2 separate regions of the Homo sapiens genome follow, and region 1 is linked to region 2. The links are contacts of gene promoters, found by promoter capture Hi-C in blood cells and fetal thymus (Javierre and others, 2016). All regions are on one chromosome and are shown on one strand. Each heading gives the region's core, a stretch centred on a gene start or on the middle of the fragment in contact. The rest is flanking DNA. Distances are from core to core; before and after follow the strand shown.

What was found. Contacts are between HindIII fragments. The CHiCAGO score rates a contact against its expected background, and 5 or more counts as called.
Region 1: a contact is called between a fragment that was not itself captured here and the fragment with the promoter of PM20D2 in region 2, in 2 of 17 cell types (total B cells and fetal thymus). The highest score is 6.2, in total B cells.

The regions. Positions count from the first base shown.
Region 1 is chr6:87,150,530-87,156,277 of GRCh38, reverse strand. ZNF292 (zinc finger protein 292) reads right to left here and starts at 713. Exons shown (of 8, transcript NM_015021.3): 1 at 519-713. The coding sequence starts at 686. It overlaps LOC124901355 (translation initiation factor IF-2-like), which reads left to right and starts at 1,031. Exons shown (of 2, transcript XM_047419630.1): 1 at 1,031-1,302; 2 at 2,976-5,122. The coding sequence starts at 3,890. The coding sequence ends at 4,570. RefSeq lists enhancers at 406-745, 1,016-1,175, 3,689-4,189, 4,421-4,490 and a silencer at 4,101-4,220. The HindIII fragment of the contact is 3,192 bases long and covers 1-3,036 here.
Region 2 is chr6:89,144,698-89,150,580 of GRCh38, reverse strand. It overlaps PM20D2 (peptidase M20 domain containing 2), which reads right to left and starts at 4,526. Exons shown (of 7, transcript NM_001010853.3): 1 at 3,972-4,526; 2 at 1,168-1,316. The coding sequence starts at 4,436. It overlaps LOC101929004 (a long non-coding RNA gene), which reads left to right and starts at 3,715. Exons shown (of 4, transcript XR_942766.4): 1 at 3,715-4,888. RefSeq lists a silencer at 3,780-4,709. The HindIII fragment of the contact is 3,355 bases long and covers 2,113-5,467 here.

The DNA of each region.
Region 1 (5,748 bases), core at 191-2,690, 2.0 Mb after region 2:
TCGAACAACAAAGGCCCGGAGACAGCCAGGACAGGGCCGGGGCTGGGGGGCGGGACGGATGAAAGCAGGGGAAGGCAAAGGAATCAAACCAGTGGGGGCGGAGGCCCGTCGGAGTGGGAAGCAGAGGCGCAGAGGCGGGAGGCGCGGTAATCCCCAGTGCACAATAAAAGGAGGAGGAGGAAGAGAACCTGGCCTCCATTCTCCTACTCTCTCCAATCCGCACCGTGTACATTTCCTCAGCCGCGGGGACCGCGCAGTCCCGAGTTCAGGGAAGGAAAGGGGAGGGGGGATTTTCCGCCTTGACCGCAACTCCCTTCCCCCAGCCAGGAGCTGCAGACGACAACAACCGCCACAACTGCAGCCACACAAAGGCGCCTTCCTTCTACTCCCGCTCCCACCCAGGCGGAGGCGCCGATGATGCCAAGGAAGCGGCGACCACCTCTCGGCCGCCTAGCGCTCGCTCGCCCTCTTCCCCCTCTAGCTGGGGAAAGGGGGAGGGGACCACCGGGCGCCCTCACCTGGCACAGCTGCTGACAGTAGTCGGTGGCCGCTTCCACGGCCGGTACCCGGCTCTCCCGCAGCTGTAGCTCCAGCTCCTGGAGCCGCTCGCCCAGGCGCTGCAGCTCCGCGACGCAGCCGCCTTCGCCGCAACTCAACCTCTCCTGCTCGGCCTCTTCGTCCGCCATCTTCACACCCCGCTCCGTCGCGTACGCACCTGGGTCACGTGATAACACAATGCCACGTTCGGCGGGGTCACGTGCCGGGCGCGCTTGCACGGCGCCGAGCACGTACAAAGGGCCCGATGGGGAAGATATGGGGGTGGGGAGAGTGGCGCGAGAGAGCCCGAGGGAGGTGAAGGCAAGGGGAAAGGAGAAGGGCGGGGTTGGGGCGGTGCGGAAAACGGCGGTTTACTTACCCCGAGCGGGAAGTGGGCAGCAGCGGCCGAAAGGGGCGGGCTGGTGAAGGCCTGCTCTCGGTCACGTGGGCGCCGCGACGGGAAAAAGCCTAGGGAGGGGCGACCCTCTCCGGCGTCCCGATCCCGGCGTGGCTTTCCCCAGTCCACGAAGTCTTCTACGGACATATCCTCCTGTTCCCCAAGAGGATGGCACAGGGAGAGTTCTGAGTGGTCTCGGGCAATGGCTGCATTTGCTGTTGGCCTGTAAGCAGGCCAGAAGCAGAGGAAGAGAGAGAAGGTAAAACCCGCCCATGGACCGCAAGCGTGAGAGCCAAGGCAGGACTATGAACTGTCAAAATTGTCTCTGACTTCTCACCAGGCCGGAGAGGAGGGATCTAGTGCGTGAGGTACCAGATCTCGTCTCACTTGACTCTCCTCCTCTTCAGCACCAAGAACGCCTGTCCCCTGGAAACACATTCTCTAGGGGGTGGAGGCAACAAAGGAAAAGAACAATTGGGTCAGAGCAGAATGAGGTTCAATCCTCAGTCTGGAGAACGGAGCAAATTCATGAAAAGCATAGTTTAAAAGAAGTCAGAATATGAACAGACCAGATGACTTTTAAACCACGAAAACATTTCTAGAATAAGTGATAACTAACTACTCTGTTTCACCGTGATTTAGACTCTACTACACTCTACAGAAATCACCAACAATGACAACAGGCTATATATGAAAGCTATTGAAAAGAAAGTAGGTCAAGGAAAAAAAAAACACCAATAAGGACTCCATTAAAAATCATAACGGAGGAGAGGAAATTGATGCTAAAATAAAACAATATTGTCGAGAATTATTATAAATATCTACAGCATTTTTTTTTCCTAATGCTACAAATAGAGGTAGCATTCTGAACCACATTTTACTTACAAGCTGAAAAGAATTAATACTTGGCACTTGAACAAAAGAGTAGAAGAGGTGCTACAAAAATCCAAGAGCTTAACCCTAAAGTTCTTAATAAAACTAATATTTTTTTTACCGTTAGAGCATTAGACAAAAGACCTATCTCTCTTGCAACTGAATAGTCTACAGAAATTTAGAAACAATGATATTGATGAGGCACCCAGTCTTTTCATTTACTCTGAGTGAAGTATATTTTTTTAGTACAAGGATCTAAAATAAAAATACTTCCCATTGTGGGCAGCGTCCTCTTCAAAAGATTTCTAGTAATTAATGGAAAGTGTTCTACATACTATGTTGTCCAGAATAAATGTTTTATAACGCATCAGTGATGGTGATGTTTTTAAAGCGGCATTATATAAGGTGACCAGGCACAGTTAAACCCCTTATGAAAAACAGTATCAGTTAATATTACATATTAACAAGGTAGAATCTTCAAATGTTTAATCTTCAAATGTTTACTCATGGAAGAGACTGGGAAGTACATTCAAAGGCTGAGAAGAGAGGATATAATAGTATCACTGAGTTGAAAAAGGAACAATTAAGGCAGCTAATGATTTTTAATATTTTCAGTTCACTTTCCCAAGTTAAGTATTTTAGATACCCAAACCAGGTTTCACCAGTTTATGTTATCTTAGGATTCCAGTGAAAAAATGCAAAAAGGGAAATATGAGGTTAGCCAAATGTACCCGTAAATCCAAGGTAAGGTATCACAGGTTAGCAAGCTCATTTCCACTTCAAGTATAATGGTTTACACCACACCTAATCTATAGAAAGAAAGAAAAAATGGGGGTTGAGGGGTGGGAGACATATATATCCAGATATTGATTTTTAAGAGAATTGCCTGATAATGTAGGTCATTCCTACCTCTTGCACATAACAACCCTAAAACTATGGAGACTTGATTAGCAAATTGATTCTGAGCACCATTACTATCTGGTAAATGTCCATCAGCATGGATGGCCATGTCTTTATGTTTATTTAGTATCTGTGAACCCTATGTCCACATTCCTCCATTTCTTCTCCTTTGCACACACATAGAAATATTTAGAGCCTACAGGAAATGTAAGGATTGGGGGTGAGTGGTGTAATTAACACTCATTTATTGTGTACTTGATATTTGCAGGCACTACTTGGTTTGGGACAAGTCAGAGGCGAATAAAAGCTCTTCCTGCCTTGAAGAAGCTTACAGTTTTGTGGGAAAATGATCTGCAATGGGAATACATACGATATGACAAATGTTCTATTATGAAAATGCATGCCTGTATTCAACTTAGAACATCAAAGTAATCTCAGATACTAACAAGAATGTCCAACGAATCTCTACATAAGTGCAGGCTTTTTTTTTTTTTTTTTTTTTTAATGAGAAGGATTGAAAATACTATCCCGTGACAGGTCAACCTTGTCTTGGAAATCTCAGAAATCTCAATCTTATCCATAGAAAAGTCATGACTTCTGTGCTTATGTCCATTTGTTCTTTAAATACCAAACTGTCAGCTCATAGGAACCATTTACACACACACACTGACACACACACAAACACGCACACCCCTACTTACTGAGATGTTCCTGGGGAGATTCGAAGACCTGTTCCATTGAGAAAACAAGAATAAGCCCCTGGGGCAAAAGACTCCGCGTCTCTGGGGAACTCAGTATCCGCGCCGCGAGCACCCATGCCCATTTTGAACACAACGCGACTGCTAAGGACGTGGTGTAATCATATGGACCTTCACTCCCAAGAGACTCGATTTCAGAGAAAATCTGGGAGACAAATTTAGATCCCTACCCGCACCCACGCGATCAATAAAGCTGGGGAGACCTTTGGGGGAGGGGACAGATGTGCTTGCATCCGGGCCGTGCGTGCCTGCTTCACGGGTTTTCCGGGCAGCACCGGCCCGCACACGCCGGTGCACTCTTTTTCTGGAATTCTTGAAATAGCCGGGCCTGAGGACAGTAAGGGAGCTGAGTTGTGTCTGCTACAGACAAGCGGCGCAGAGCCTGGGGGCCAAGCCAGGGATGCAGGGAGCGCGGCGTTAGCGGATGACGGATAGCTCAGGGCTAAGGCCTGGCAGGTCCTTCCTACCCCCGACCCAGTACACCCCGCAGCCCCGCCCTCGCCCCAGCACGCGAGGTGAAAGCGCGAGGCCCGGGGATGGCGGAGAGCGTGCGCCACTATCGGGGCGCTGTCTCTTGCCCCGCTCTCGCCCTGGGCCGGAGAACGGAGAAGGTCCGCAGGCCTCGGGCCACGGAGGGCACCAGATCGGTCCGCTCTGCTCCGCTAACCCAGCCTGCGCCCCTCCACCCCGCCAAGGCCCTGCTGGGCGCTGCGCCGGTTGCTCGCGTCCTCTGTTGTCGCGGAGCCGCCGCCGCCGCCGCCCGCGAACCAGCAACGCCGACACCCAGCAGTTGCAGGCCCGGCGTTTGCCGCCGCGGTTTTTCCACCCAGCACTGAGGATCAAGCCCGCTGTAGCCTGGCTGCGACTCCCCGCTTGGGAGCAGAGGCCGCCAGGGGCCTCCAGGCCGAGAGATTCTGGAGCCTTTCCAGGGCGCGGCGGGGAGCGGGGCCTCCGGAAACCCACCCCGGGGATGCTGGAGTCTGTCCTGCAGAGGCCGTGGCGCGGGCACTGCTGCCTGATTTCGAAGAGGCTCCATCAACCTACTCTCTTCCAAAGGGCTGGGCAGCCCAGCCACAGACAGGCAGCCTCTGGATCTCAGAAGTGAGGGACGGAGTCTATCCTGGGTTTGGTCCAGTAGAAACCCCCCACCCCCACCCCCAGAGTCTGGGAACCAGTGCTGTGCCCACAGATGCAAAGAGAAAGAGCATGGGTTAAAGCGCTATTGGGATCGGTTAGACACCACACTTTTCCAAGGAAGACATTTTCTTCGAGAGGAACAGCAAAAGGAGTCAATATAATGTTAAAAATATTAAGGCAGGTGCTGTGCCACATGTTGAAGTGATTCCAAAAGCAGAGAAAACATGGGACTCACATTTAAGAGGATTAATTGTAGCCTTTGAGTTTTTCCCAGAAAAAAAAAAAAGGCTAGCATATATATTTTCATATATTTATATGAACAGGTAATTAAATAAGGAGGGATTTTAAAAAATTGTCTATTTGGATATCGTTTTCCTTTCCATTTGAGGAAAAGCCAAATGCAAATAAGGAGAATAATATTTAAAGAACATGCTTTTAATAGAGCCTCAATTATCCTTCTAATTTAACCAAGATGAAAATAATTGTGAAATAAAGCAAAATAAAATCTTGGAAGCATAAATGTGTTATACATTGTTCTTTTGTTTGTTTGTTTGAGACGGAGTCTCACTCTGTCTCCCTAGGCTGGAGTGCAGTGGCGCGATCTCTGCTCACTGCAACTTCTGTCTCCCGGGCTCAAGCGATTCCCCTGCCTCAGCCTCCCAAGTAGCTGGGATTACAGGCACCCACCAACACACCAGGCAAATTTTTGTATTTTTAGTAGAGATAGGGTTTCACCATGTTGACCAGGCTGGTTTCGAACTACTGACCTCAAATGATCAGCCCGCCTCGGCCTCCCAAAGTGTTGGGATTACAGGCGTGAGCCACCACACCCAGCCTGTTTCTATAGAGAATCCTGGAGTTGGTTCACAGCATTTCTCCAAAGAATCAGAGAGAAATAAATATTTTAAAGTGCCTTTCTTTTCCTATATTTCTAAATTTTAATCACTGTGCCTCATTTGCCTCATCAGAAATTCAAGGTTATTTAAAAAAATTAGAGAATACAACTTTTGTGGCATTTGGCTTTTTAAAGAAATAATACTGTGCAGATGTGACAAACTTGGAAATTCCCAGGTCTCTTCCCATTTTAGGACATCAACTTCTTAGTTTTGCTGGTTTCTGTAATTCTTATAGATATGTTCTTCAATA
Region 2 (5,883 bases), core at 3,277-5,776:
GCAATTGAGTGAGACTCAGCCTCAAAAAAAAAAAAAAAAAAAAAAAAAAGAGATGATCAGTGAGAAAGCTAAGAAGGCAGATACTAGGAGAAGGTCTGGGGTCAAGTGCGCTGACTTCAGAACCAAGACCACGAAGCCTAACCTTAAGTCCCAGAAGGGTAATGAGCTGCAGAGCCTGCCTGCATATGCAGGCCCCTTCTAGTCAAAGGCAAGGGCAGAGATTTCTAATCCCCAGTGTTTTCTAGAGATGGACTAGTTTACCACCACCCTTGAAACCAAAGTTCAAAGATTCCTCCTACTGCCACAGTACCAATTTCCAGTGATAAGAAGGAAGATACCCTAATAGTTAAAATGATCACCCTTTGAAAACAGGGCCTGGTAAGGTGCTAAGAGGTGGGATACCCGGGTACAATCTAGAAGCACTGCTGTGATGGTTCTGCTATCATTCCCTCAGTACCGAGCTACTTCTGAGGAAAACACATGGTTTTGCTGAAGCAGCTGAGCACTGGCTCCTTGTGCCTGGACCATTAACTACTATAGTTACTACTATGGTTGAAATTTCTGGTATAAAAAATCCAAACCACTTCAATGATGTGTGCTCCTAGGTACTAAAAAGTGAGTTCTTCAACATAAAGAAAGACAAATAAAAGGTTTCAGCACCAGACAAATCGGAAAAGCACAGAATGAGAAGTTCCACAAAAACCATAGCTACTCATGTTCCATATTCTCTCTCAGGACATAATTTATCCTCTTTGCAAAGAACTCAAATTAAAGTAAATAAAATGGATAAGTGTGGTTTCTTCCCATAGCTAATAGAACGATCTCTCGCAAATCTATTCAGTTGCAAAGACAATTTCATATGAAAGGACAGATGTTTTCCAGACACCAGATTATTGACAGTTCAAAAGAGAACTTAATTGTCAACATGTTTGTTATTCCTATGGTTTCTAAGTGCTACTATTTTAATACTCCAATTATGAACACCATAATGAATCTCAATTAGAAGAGGCTTGCCAAATGTCACTCCATAGATCAAGACATCTTGTTATTGTCTTTCAATTTACTTCTTAAATATACAAATGTGGAGTTTTCGTCTCTGGTTTAGACATAAAAGTATTCTATAGCCTGTGTTCCCCTAAGAAGTTTATCTTCAACTTGATTACTCACTCATGTTCAGCCATATCTGGTAGATAAGCAGCATTCTCTTGTGATGGGTGGGCCATAAAAACAACATCAAGATTTGTAAAAGCCCCTGCTTCAATTAAATCAATTTTGCCACCACCATCTTCTTCTGCAGGGGTTCCCAGGACAACTACCTAGAAGGAAATACTCATGTCAGGGAAAAACAACAAAATCCTCATAGGAATATATCAAACAGGTTCACCTGCATATGTATTCACAATCTACATTAAAGTCCTTAACCTATTAAGACAGGTTTTGTTCTATGACGCTTACGCAATGGGCATCAACAAATGGTGCTAAATTAATCACAAAATGTACATTGTTATACCAACTTGGTGCAAAGTATGTACTAAAGACACTATAAAAAGCTTTTCCCAATTTTACAAGTCAACTAATGGCAAAGATAAAAAAAAATACTACAAGTTTAGTCCCTCAAAATTTGTTAGGATTTGTTTCAAAAAGGTTCCTCTCGACTAAGCCTTTCAGTGTATGTATGTATATAATTATTCTTAAGTACTTTACGAGTCAGAAACTTTCTGTTAACTTACTACTTATCCTCACAACAACCCTGTGAGGTAGGTGGGTGATCTCTATCATCATTTTACAGGGGGTGTTTTTGAGGAATTGAGTGAAGTGTCTTGCCCCAGGTCACAGAGCAAGTCTTCAGGCAGAATTAGGATTAGATGTCCTGATCTTCTGGCCTAAACTCTGATTCCTTACTGGGCTACCTATTTTAAAAGTCTGAACTCATTAATCCTTTATGAAGAACATTAAACAAGTCTTAATGCCACAGTTAGAAACAGCCAACTATTACACAAACTTACTAATTCGATTCCACCAGTTCAACCAGGCAGATTTATTGGTCACCAAACACCTAATTAAACAAAAGAGAACTTTACAGAATAAACATTTTACTTTGATATTTAAGCTTAACTGCTTCAAACAATTTTAAAAATCAAAATAAACAACTAATATATTTTCAAGATCATGTATAAGAACACAATGAAACAAGCTGGAAAAGTCTTGGCTTGCAAAGGAAATCAACTTAAATTCCATTTTCAGATAATTAATAACTTAACCTTGCTAAAATTGAGAACAACCATTTGAAGTTAGAAGAGTGGGCCGGGAGCGGTGACTCATGCCTGTAATCCTAGCACTGTGGGAGGCCGAGGTGGGCGAATCACCCGAGATCCGGAGTTCGATACCAGCCAGGCCAACATGGCGAAATCCTGTCTCTACTAAAAAATGCAAAAATTAGCTGGGCGTGGTGGCACACACCTGTAATCCCAGCTCAGGAGGCTGAAGCACGAGGATCGCCTGAACCCGGGAGGCGGAGGTTGTAGTGAGCCGAGATAGGACCACTGCACTCGGCCTGGGCGACAGAATGAGACTGTCTCAAAAAAAAAAAAAAAAAAAAAAGAGTGTACATTTCTCAAAGTTTAGCTTTTTTTTGGCGGTTCTACAGTGCTCAAACTCTGACATGAAGCCGCCGCTCTTTTTTTTTTTAAGAGGAGGCCTCGCTCTGTTGCCCAGGATGGAGTGCAGTGGCGCGATGTCGGCTCACTGCAACCTCTGCCTCCTGGGTTCAAGCGATTCTCCTGCCTCAGCCTCCCGAGTAGCTGGGATTACAGGCGTGAGCCACCACGCCCAGCTAATTTTTTTTTTTTTAATATATTTTAGTAGAGACAGAGGTTTCACCATGTTGGCCAGGCGGGTCTCGAACTCCAGACCTCAACTGATCTGCCCACCGCTCTTCATTCTTGACCCTTAACTCATTAAATACGATATGTCTCTCGCTGACTACTCAGAACCTTTAAAAACGTGGTTGAAGCGAAATCTCTCCAGTGTTTGTGACATGGCAAAGCATGCTTCCCCCAACCCAAACAAAAACCTAACAAATGCAAAAACGAGCCTCCAGAGACAGAAAAAAGAAGGCAGCTAAAGTGAAAAAGCCACAAAAGATGTAGTGTTAGGATAAAAGAGGAAGGTTACTGACACTGGGGGAAATGAACTAAAGAGTATGAAAATAAAACATTTGTTTTCCCCTTAACTGAATGACGATTGAATCTTAGCTCATAGTGTAGAATATACCATCTGGAAAAGCAGAGTAAAACAGGATTAAACTTGCCCTACGACAAACATAAACGACATTTCCCTGTTTAAAGAGTCGAGGTATTTCTTAAAATCATAAAACAAAAAAATTAAGACTTAAGGATGAACTCATCTATGTATAATGCTCATTCACTTCCCCTTTATTTGTATACTTCTAGGGGTCTGGTGGTTCTAGCGACTGAAAATTCCTATCCAAATACCAATGACTTGAATCACATTTTCTAGGACTGCCACAAACAAAAGATTTATTTGGAGACGAATAAAAAGGGGCCGTAGGATTACCTACAAGAAGTTATTTCCTCCTGAGATTGATGGCACAACCTTGTCAGCAAATTGCTGTTGCCTCTCTCAGTTACCAAAAATAACCCGTAACAAACACCAGGCTTGGGTGTAAGTTCTTTCCTAAGGGAACAACTCAGCAGAGCTGTTTATAACTAGAGAGGAGGAAACAATAATCTGCAAGATGTCGCCAGGTCGGCAACGCGAACTGACTTTGACTGGGGGTTCAGCTCTGCTCCTGCGCCGAGGCGAGGACCGCAGGTTTAGCGCGGTCCCACACACACCTGCCCCGGGCGGGAGGGCACCGAGGCGCGCGGGACGCACGAGAGTCCCGCCCTTCCCGGGTCGCCCCCGACCCGGGCAGTCGGATAGGGTCCCGCACCCGGGCCCCACCTCACCTTCACGGGCGGAGGCGGCCTGGGGAGGCCCTCTAAGGCCCCCCTCACGCCCAGCGCGGCCGCCGCCCCGACCTCAGCGATGAGGTTGTGGCCGCAGGCGTGGCCGATGCCGGGCAGCGCGTCGTACTCGCAGAGGAAGCCCAGGTGCAGCGGGCGTGGCGTGGCGCTCGGTGCCCGGGCCTCCGGCGGCTCCCACTCGGCGCGGAAGGCCGTGGGCAGCTGGTAGTGCGGCTGCACTGCCCAGGAGGCCGCGGGCGGCTCCCGCTCGAAGAAGTGCGTCAGCACGCGGTGGGCATGGTGCTCCTCGTAGGCCAGCTCGGGCTGGCTCCAGATCGCGCGGCTCAGGGCCCCCAGCCGCTCGGCCGCCTCGTCGATGCACTCCGCCGAGCGCAGCTTCAGTAGCTCCAGCTCGGAGCGGCCATTGCACGCGCCCCCTTCCACGGGCCGCTCCCCTCCGGGCCTCATGCTGCCCAAGCCCGCTGCCCTCTGCGCCCTCTCGCTCCCTGGCTCGGCCGCAGGTAGCGACCGCCCGCGCACGCGCCCAGAGGCCTCCAGGACCCCGGCGGAGCGCGCACGCGGCCACACAGCTCCCAGGGCACCACCCCCAGTCCCGGGGCCGCCCCCGGCGCCGCGCGGGAAACGCTGGCGGCCGCTCGTACCCTACCAGGCGCTCTGCCCCGCCGTGGGGTTTTGGGGGTGCTGTGGAGAAGGCAGGGCTCGGGACTCTTCCACCTCCTTGGCTGCTCTGGCCTTTGAGTTATGCTCTAAGATTATCGATTACTTTTCCGTTGTTGCTTATTTCCCACAGCAGCAGAATGAGAACGGTTATTAGTTAATAGCCATCAGAGACAGACCAAGTGGAACACAGTCCTCGGAAAAACGCCACTCTGTAGCATTAGTAATTAAAACCTCACAAGGTTTGTATTTCCTGAAGGAGGCCGTCAGTGTCAATGCTGTACTAACGACGGTACTGTACGTAAGTTTCGGTACTGCCCCCACTTTCTTCTCCTTGACATTGTATTACTAAAAGCTGCAGCTACTCTCTACAGTTTTCTCATTGGTTACTAATGTCTGGAACAGCAGCTAGATTATGCAGTAAGCTCTTGGTATGTATTAGCTATTATATAATAATTTATTTGAATAGAGTAGAACTAAAAATTTGAAATGAGTTAAAACCAAAGAGTTAAAAGATTTATGGTAGTAAATATTCATACTGTTTTGTTGATTTGGACAGTTGTCTTGAACAGCTTTGAAAGGGAACATATGACAGGTTTCGTTTATAATTTTAATTGATGCTGAACTCCACTAACATGATATGTGCAGCTGGTGTTACATTATAACTGAGTTTTTTAATTACCCAGTGAAGAAATTCAAGATGTCATGCTCTTGTTTTTCTCCAGAGTGAACCACAAAGTCTGAAAAACTGTTGTTGACGGTATGCCTATTAATAACACTGTAGATGTTTATATTCTGAGGTTTTCCACATATTAAAAGCTTCTATCAGCTCTTCATACCCTATCATCTTTCCTTAATTTGTCTCAACTATGTTAAATGGGACACAATATATTAATGTGATAAACCAAATGAATATTTTGAAAATAAGTCTAAGGGAAGCTAACATGCACGAAGACTATCAACTACTGTTTTTACTACTCTATATGCTAATAATACCAGAGTAAATGTCACATTCCATTCACGTCTGAAAACTTTCTTTCTCAGTTAACACTCCAACAAAAACTCAGCTCTAAAAACAACAAATGTGTTATTAAATTCCTGGGCCCCCTTGGCGATAATAAATCTTTCTCTGGTATTCTGCTGAAGAAAATTACCCTGTATCCACGAGATCCAATATTATCCTGCTCAGTTAGTTGGCTAAAAAAAGGGGAGAAGGGGGGATTGGAGAGCAAAAGCA